Linked DNA regions of Homo sapiens: region 1 is linked to region 2. The links are contacts of gene promoters, found by promoter capture Hi-C in human tissues and cell types (Jung and others, 2019). All regions are on one chromosome and are shown on one strand. Each heading gives the region's core, a stretch centred on a gene start or on the middle of the fragment in contact. The rest is flanking DNA. Distances are from core to core; before and after follow the strand shown.

Region 1 (4,994 bases), core at 582-3,081, 290 kb before region 2:
TGGAGGGTGTCAAGAAAGAGAGAGAGAATTTTGTTGCAGAGAAAAATAATTTTCACCTGAAACACATGCAATTAAGACGTTATCCTCTCAATTAAGTAATCCAAGATTACTTAAAAGTTTATCTAGTAATCCATCTGGTTTTGTTGCATGATGCTGTGGCTTAATAGTCAGGTTGTTCACTTTTGACATTACTGCCAGAAAGTTTAGACCAAAATTTCTGGCTCACACCCATATTAAATGTGTTGCTTATTGTAGTTTGAAGAATTAGACTTTTTAAATGTTTCTGTCTCAGATCCACTCCTTTACAGTTTTTCTTTATTTCTTTGCCCACATTTAACCTAGGCTAATTTACAATATTTTATTGTGCTGCACAAATCACTTAATAAGCCTTCTGAAATTCTTTCTAGAACAAGGTGGAATATAATACATGGACAGTCAATGTGAAGATCCTGAAATCCTGAGTAATTATCCCATATACAAATTTCATCCTTTTTAAAAATAGACACAACCAAGTTATGGTGTGTGCTTACTGTCTGCCAGGAGCCAGAAGTAGACTGGATGTGAACCTCAGCTGTTAGGCTGAGATATCCTTCTAACTTACTTTGACTCTTACTCTGAAATCTCTTAAACTCACCCCACCTTCTGCATCCCAAGGGCATTCATTATGGTTCTTTCTCTCACATTCATAAGCCTTTGCATCATGCATTCTAATTTACAAAGCATTTTGCAGTGCCTGTTAACCAATCTCTCTACCGCAGGTGCCCATCCATTCTAATCCATCCTGCACACCTATACAGTGTAATTTTCTTAAAATACCATTTTCATCTTGCTCAAGAACCTCTATCTGTCATTTTAAGGTGAAACATCTCGTCTAAAACTTCAACAACTTTCAGTAGCTAGCATCATCTTACTTCTACAAATAATTCCTCTCTTTAATTTTCAACATGAATCTTCCTCTTCAGTAGTTGCCCTAATTTTTCTCCAGCAGTGCTGTCTTCTTTTCTGCTTCCACATGTAGTTTATGCAGTTTCTATTACCTTGAACACCAGCCTAGTTTTCTCCTCCAATTAAAATCCTATTCAATTTTAAAGACTCAATTAATCTACAGTTCTTTCACAAAGGTTCTGAATCTCAGAGACTGTTCCTAACTATACTTGTTTTTTTTTTTTTTTATCATTTTCTCTAACTAGATTATGTGTTTCTTAATGACAGGCATGATATTGCATCATCTCTTGGGTCTGCCATGTTAGTAAGCCCAGCATTGAGAGATATTATAAAATTAGTAGAAACTTATTGAGCCTCAATCACTCCAAACAATTATCAAGTACTCAGCCAGAGGCCATATGTTTTAGAATTAGTAAAATGAAAGACCTAAGAAACTCCAGAAACTCTAATGGCCTGACTTCCACTCAAGCATTTCAAGATAATACTGAATCAAATTTGTAATACAATCAGAGTCCCCAACACTCTAGAGAGATGAAGATATTCATGGGCTTTGCTCAGTTACCATAAACTATAATTCAATATGGTCATGAGGAAGTATTTCCATAAACACTGTCAAAAAGAATGAATTTGGGTTTTTTAATTCCCGTTTTTCCATTGCTATTACTAATAACTGAGGCAAGAATCAACAGTGTATGCTAAAAGCAATGGGTGAAATTTTGATGGACTCAGGATTAGAATATTTCTCTGGTCTCAGAATGTCTCACCACAGATTATTAATTACTTATGAATAAAAAAATGACAACTATACAGTGTAAAAACTTGGTAAACACCACTAGTCAAGTAATCAAAGCTAACATTACCAATTCGTTACAGGCCAACCTGATACCAGATGCATGCCCCATGATGGAGTGCACTAAAATGACACAGCATCATTCATGTGGTATTTCTGCCAAAAATGCATCACCTGAATCTCATCATGAGGAAAAAAAAATCAGAAAATCCCACATTGAGGGACTTCCTGTAGAAACTGTCCTATACTCTTCAAAAATGTCAGTTTCATAGCAGAGAAAGGAGATTGAAGAAGAATGAAAACAAAATGCAATGACTGATCCTGGGTGGGATTTTTTTTTTCTGTGAAGGATAGTTTGGGAAGAACTATTGAAATATGTATATTAGATGATAGTATTGTATCATTGATAATTTCCTAAACTTGCTAGTTGCATTGCGATTATAAATGAATATCCTTGTTCTTAGAAGCTACTTTCTGAAGTATGAAGGGTCATAATGCCTGTCATTTGTTTAAAATTTCATAAATAATTATTATGGTATTCATCTATGTGTAGCAATAAATATAGATATATTGAGAGAAATGTCATGATGTCATAATTAAAGACAATATAAGTTTCATTGTACTAATTCTTGTGAGCCTTGTTTAACTCATCATTGTGGTAGCCAAAATAGTAGCCCCCTAAAAATGTCCACATTCTATGTGAATATGTTAAGGTGCATGGCAAAGAGTAATTAAGATTGCTGATGGAATTAAGATGGTAAATTAAACTGGAGATAGGCAAATTATCCTAGATTATCCCAGAGGGCTTTATGGAATCACTGGAGTCCTTATAAAAGCAGAAGAGGTACGCAGAACAGGGAGAAAAGGAGAGATGGTGACATGGGAAGGACTTAGCCTGACATCAGTGGCTTTGAAGATGGAGAAAGGGCCCACTAGCCAAGGAATACAGATTGGCTCTAGAAGTTGGAAAAGGCAAGGAAATAGATTCTTCCCTGGAGCCTCTAGAAGGAATGTGACCTGCGACATGCTGATTTTAGCTTAGTGGGACCAATTTCAGACTTTTGACCTAGAGAATTGTGAGATAATAAATTTATTATCTAAGCCACTAAGTTTCTTGAAGTTCTTACAGCAGCAATAGAAAACTGATACACTCCTTTTTTTTCTGTAAAATTAAAGTTTGAAAAAAAGCAGCGTATGTGTAGAATGCTTTCTAAGAACCCCAGCTCTAGAGGCAGGCTGTTGAATCAGGGGAGGTAAAAGATTGTCTAAAGGGTTTGTAATTTTTCGGAAACTTGATTTTTAACACAAATGAAGATGAAGAACTATTCTCAGAGTAGTACAACTGCAAATCAACACAAAATAGAAATAAAATGGAATCAACAGAAAATGAGACAGGAAGAGAGAATAAAGCTTTAGCCTGAGTCTTCTTTGGCATTTGTCAAGAGAGGGACAAAGGAAAAGGAGATAGTTTATATTTACGTATGTATTTATACACATGTAACATTATACATATATTTACTTTATTTACATAGTATGTATTTTATTTATGCTTATTTTATTATATTGCAATTATATATATTATATACATATACACACACACACACACATATAACACCCACACACACATATATATGTGTGTATGTGTACATATTGTATCTTTTGGGATGTGTGAAATGTTGAAAAGGGGACTGAATTCTAGTCTAGCTTTTGTCATCTTAGTTTGGTAAAACTGGGAAATATTGGGCTAGTTCAAAGTTAATTGCGGTTTTTGCCATTAAAAGTAATAATACAAGTGCTCTGAGCTTCAGACTCCTCAACTCTACCAAAAAAAAAAAAAATCACACTTATCTTGATGATTGCTGTGAGAATTAAATGAAAAAGAGTACAAACACCTAAAAGAGGGTTAGTATAAAATGTGTGATCAATATACAGAACCATCAATGCATTTATTATTGTTGCTACTTACACTGGTGCTTCTACTACCGTTGTTGGTACTTGGCTGTATCCACTTTGTTCTTTCATCATTCAGCCCCTCTTCATCAACTACTTTCTATTTTATTTTTATTTCTTTTCTTTTCTTTTGTCCTTAGTAAGATGCCAAAAACACAAGTGTATTTACAGGGCTATGTTCCAAAGTTCCACCTGGGCTGCTATGCTGACACTGCTTTCTTTGTCTGCCTCTTACAGGTAGGCGTTTCTTAACCTCTAGCCCCTGGCCCTCTTTTGTTGTCAAACTATATTTATTTTCTGGATGGCCTTTTTATTCTGATTACTTAAGATACTGTGTCACTATTGAGGACATCTTAATTTACGTATCCAATTGAGTTCCATGTCTAAGTCACATCCTCAAAGTCACAGAAAGGCAGAAATGTAAATTAGACCCTTGAGAGGCTTCTAAGGGAAAGAAGAAAAACTGGGAGGAATGGTGGCTTAAGAAAAATATCGGACGAAGCAAAACTAGTTTTGTCATATTTTTTGCTTTTGTTGTATTTTAGGGATAATGGAGTTTTTAGTACTTTGTATACTAGGAGGAAGTTGCTGAAGAAAATAATCAAAATAAAAGAAAGATGACTGAAGAGGCAAGATATCAGGGGATATTTAGAGGGAGAACTTAGTATGATGTCTGAGTATGATAAGTCAATAAGAACACAAATTCTCAGAATTGAATTTGAAGGAGGAGAGGAGGAGTCAGCTACAGATGCATTGAAAGTTAGAGAAACTCACTTCTTTGAATTTTTTGTTTCCAAAAACTGCAGCCTTCAGGAACTGGTTGACAGTTGGTCATATAGTATGTCTGAGGAGCCTATGTTGGAAGAGATTTGATGTTTTTTTCCAGTAATTTCAATGTTTTAGTAATTTTGATATTGATTATTTGACCAAGGAGCCATCTGCCATCAGATAAAATGACACAAGGCAATTTGAAGCCCACCATGCCTTTTCCTCAAATATTGGAAAAGCAAATGAATAGATGAATATTGTGTGTGTTTGAATAAAGCCTCCAGACACAATTTTTTGCACATGATGAAATTCTAAGACATCTTTATAATATAGTCTCTGTTGGCTTAATACACAGAGACCTTCTGTGTGGCTGCCTCTACCGGGGTCTGGAAAACGTCGTCAGTGTGCAGCAAACACACACAGTAAGATGCACTGTGAATTTCTAAGAGTCTCCAAAGACTGAAGACAGTAAGTCATTCAGAGTCATGTTAATGGCAAAGCTGCCAGAAATGGGCCACACACCCTAATTCAAATGACCCTT
Region 2 (4,491 bases), core at 1,921-4,420:
TAAAGAAAATGTGATACATATACACCATGGGATACTATGCAGCCATAAAAAAGGATGAGATCATATTCTTTGCAGGGACATGGCTGGAGCTGGAGGCCATTACCCTTAGCAAACTGATACAGGATAGAAAACCGAATATTGCATGTTCTCACTTATAAATGAGGGTTAAAAGATGAGAACACATGGATACACAGAAGAGAACAACAGGCACTGCATCCTATTGCAAGGTAGAGAATGGGAGGAGAGAGGGGATCAGGAAAAATAACTAATGGGTATTAGATCTAATACCTGAGTAACAAAATAATCTGTACAACAAACCCCCATGACATGAGTTTACCTATATAACAAAGCTGCATCTGTAACCTTGAACTTAAAGTAAAAAAAATTAAGGTATAGTTGGCAGGTAAAAATTATATACATTTATGGTGTACAACTTGATGTTTTAATGTATGTATATACTGTGAAATCATGAAATCAAGCTAATTAACATATCCATCACCTCATATACTTATCATTCTATGTTGTGAGGACATTTACTATCTAGCCTCTTAGCCATTTTCAAGTATATGAGATATTATTACTAACTGTAGCACAGTAGGTCTCCTGAACTTATTAATCCTATATGACTAAATTTTTGTACCTTTTGGCCATCATCTAGCCACTCCCCTGTCCTCACTCTCATGCCCTGACAACCACCATACTACTCTATGCTTCTATGAGTTTGACTTTTTTAGTTGCCACTTCTAAGTGAAATCATGCAGTGCTCATATTTCTGTGCCTGCCTTAATTCACTTAGTACGTGTCTTGCAAGCTCATCCATGTTGTCACAAATGATAAGATTTCCTTCTTTTTCAGGGCTGAATAGAATTCCATTACATACACACAAACACACACACACACACACACAGAGACACACACATAATATATTTTCTTTATCCATTCATCGATCGATGAGCCCAGGTTGATTCCCCTTATTGATTATTGTGAACAATGCTGTAATGACATTGGTCTAGGCAGTGGTTTTTTGTATATGACCCCAAACACAGGCAACAAAAGTACAAATAAATGAGGTGGCATCAAAACAAAAAGCTTTTGCACAACCAAAGCAACAGTCAACAGGGTAAAAAGATAATCTATGGAATGGGAAAAAATATTTGTAAACTATCCATCTGACAAGGAGTATCCAAAATATATAAGAAACACTCAACAGCAAACAACTCAATAGAAAAAAAATCTGATTAAAAAATAGACAAAGTATCTGAATAGACATTTCTCAAAAGAAGACATACAAATGTCCAACAGATATATAAAAAAAAATGGTCAAATCACTAATCATCATGGAAATGTAAATTAAAACGCAAACTACAATGAGAAACTACCTTACACTGTTGGAATGGCTTTCATCAAAAAGACAACAGATGAGTATTGAAGAGAATGTAGAGAAAAAGGAATCTTTGTATACTAATATGGTTTGGCTCTGTGTCCCCACCCAAATCTCATCTCAAATTGTAATCCCCATAATCCCCACATGTCAAGGGAAGGATCTGGTGGTGGGTGATTGGATCATGGGAGTGGTTTCCCCCATACTGTTCTTGTCATAGTGAGTGAGTTCTCACGAGATGTGATGCTTTTATAAGGGGCTCTTCCTTCATTCATTTGCTCTCTCTTGCCTGCCACCATGTAAGATGTGCCTTTGCTTCTCTCTTGCCTTCTTCCATGATTGTAAGTTTCCTGAGGCCTCCCCAGACATGCAGAACGATGAGTCAGTAAACTTGATAAATTACCCAGTCAGGTATGTCTTTATAGCAGTGTGAGAATAGAATAATACATACACTGTTGCTGGAAATGTAAATTGGTACAACCGTTATGGAAAACAGTATGGTGGTTCCTCAGAAAATTGAAAATAGAGCTCTCATATAATCCTGCAATCCTACCTCTGGATATATATCCAGAGGATATAGAATAAGTATGTCAAAGAGATAGCTGCACTCCCATGTTCATTTAAGAAGCTTCTTACAGTGGAGAGCAGAGTTTTGATTATTTACCTGTTTCTGAGAATCAATTCTTTATGTGCAAGTCTTTAAACTTTATTAACAGATTTACTTGTCGGTTTATTTATTGTTTGTTCTATTTAATCATTCCATTAGAAACTATTTATATCTGGCACATTCTTGTCAGCAACTTTCTTAAAGCTGAAACAGAATTTACCTAATTTATTCCAGTAATTGTTACTAAAGTACAAAGTGTAAAGGAAAAATTCATTGTGTATATTTCTGTGATGTCATGAATTATTAAAATATAATTATCTGATTGCTTTTGGCATACTTATAACTTCAGTTACCGTGGGTTTAAGATGCTGGTCACATTTATGACGGCACCCACATATACACACCCTCCTCTCATACATGGAAAACAAAACCTGCTGTTGTTTTCACTGGCCAGTGGGTGTCAGTAATTTGACCTGGAGACTTGGGGGAAGAAAGGAGGAAAGTGGAAAAGAGGTTCCTTTCTTCAGATGCAGGGAAACAGTTTAAATTTTATTGTTAAAGGATCTGAAAAAACATCGTTTAGGGAGGGGATGCTGACATTCTGGAAGGGGAGATTTCCCATAAAGGAGGCCACCAGACAGTTGGGCTGCATTTTCTCTCTGTGTGGCTACCTCTTGTTCTTTTTTGACTGAGTCTCACTCACAGCCCTGCGAATCCTTCGGGCAAGAAGCAACAAGTTGCAGGCTGCTTCTACATCTGCCTAGGAAGAGGGTGTTAGGTGGGAGGAGGGCAGATGACTCAAGCGTCTCTCTCCTGGACCTTAGTTTCCACCTGTAGACTTTCTTTTAATGTAATCTAGACTCTGTTAGGACCTAGGACCTGAGACCAGTCCAACAGGGTCTCCCCCACACTGGGCACTCTCCAAGAGTATGCCTGGCAGTCAGGCTCTGAATGCTGGCATGCTGCCTATTCTGGCCTTTCCCTTTTGTTGCCCTAAGGGCTGTGTGTTGTGAATCAAATCACTGGGCAACCAAGTACCTTCAAAAACAGCCCCAAGCTCTCTGGAAACTACTTCCTATTCCAGCCAAAATTGCAGAGAAAGGAGGGCATCAAGCTTAGGGGACCAATCCCTGTCTTTCTACCAGTCCCTGATAACTACTCAAGCTCCCTTTAAAGAGGCTCATATTGGAATACTCTGTTGACAAGTAGATACCACTTCACCTCTGCTAGGGTGAGCGCTGGTAGCTCCTCCCTGTTAAATGCCCATCTCAATGCCTCTGCCCTAAGTGAGTTGTGCAATAAATGAGCTGTCACTCTGAACAGGTGGGAAAGAAGTGAACTGCTTGTTCACTTGCTGCTGTTGCCACTGCTGGTACAGAAATAGAAGGTAAGACAGGTGAGAACTGCTTTTCCTTCTATCAAGAAAGATTCCAAACTGAGGCAATGCTTTGCATTGAGTCCTGGGGTTTTGTGGTTTTGGGAACCAACAGTACTCAAAGTATTTTCTCTTGCTAACTGCTTCCCCTCTAGGCCATAAAGCCTCTTTTCTTTCTTTTTTTTTTTTTTTTTTAAAAAAAACACAGCACAAAAAAACAAAGACAAAAAACCTCCAAGCTCCCTTCAGTAGTTGCTACACCTTCAGATTGAGACATCCTTCCTCATTTACAAACCTCAGCTGTGTCTGGGGGCAGGGCCACAGTGAAACTGCCAGGAGCAAAAAGGCTTCCAAGAAAAAGTACCACATCAGATTGGAAACTGGGGACAGATCATTCCTGGGATGTGACGGGCACCAGAATGCTCCCTCTCCAAAGGATCTAAGGACCAAAGCTGACAGTTTCTTTACTTGGTAAGTTTTGGGTGGTTTGCTGTGTAAAGCATATCTGAGAACAGGTATGATTGAGCTCATCTTCCTTTTCTCCTTATTGCAAGGGTTTGTGAATTCAAGTCTGTGGACTGAGGTGGTGGGGAGCATCCAATTAGAACTCCATTCACATGTAGCTCACAGTCATGTGGGCTGTGCTGGGGATGGTCCATCAAGCATTTAGAATAGGCTTGGTTTTGGAATGCAGTGGATCTGATTGCTTCTTGGCAGCTTCTCTTTCCCAATTATGTTTGGCTTAGTCTGATAGTCAAATTACTTTATAATCCCTAAGCTGATCCAGAAAGTAAACAGAAGAGACAGAGAGAACGCTGTCTAAAAAGAGACTGGGGATGGGGCAAGGAGGATTCTGGTTGGATTTTCAAAATGTTCCCTGAATAATCCACAACCCATCCCAAAGAATGGTGACTGCATATGATACCCTAGCTCTTTGTTAAGCTCAAAAAGCTGACTATAACATGCCTCTTTAAAATGCTGGCCAATTAAAGCCACTATGCACATCTTCAATTGTTTTGTTCCCTTAACGAAGCTCAAGAAGGTATATTACAGGTATGGATTTGATTAAAAACGTAAGGTTTCTCATAATGAATATATGTTCTGGTTTAAATAATTTAGAAATTTTCC

Evidence for each region. The method cuts DNA at HindIII sites, captures the fragments that hold promoters and counts their contacts. A contact is called where the count stands out against the background at its distance.
Region 1: a fragment that was not itself captured here is called in contact with the fragment with the promoter of BBOX1 in region 2 in 2 of the 25 tissues and cell types used here (aorta and mesenchymal stem cells).

The regions. Positions count from the first base shown.
Region 1 is chr11:26,748,901-26,753,894 of GRCh38, forward strand. No RefSeq gene overlaps it. Among named protein-coding and RNA genes, the nearest start is that of SLC5A12, 29 kb to the left of the region's middle. The HindIII fragment of the contact is 6,078 bases long and covers 1-4,870 here.
Region 2 is chr11:27,037,645-27,042,135 of GRCh38, forward strand. BBOX1 (gamma-butyrobetaine hydroxylase 1) reads left to right here and starts at 3,171. Exons shown (of 9, transcript NM_003986.3): 1 at 3,171-3,384; 2 at 3,572-3,834. The HindIII fragment of the contact is 6,644 bases long and covers 1,550-4,491 here.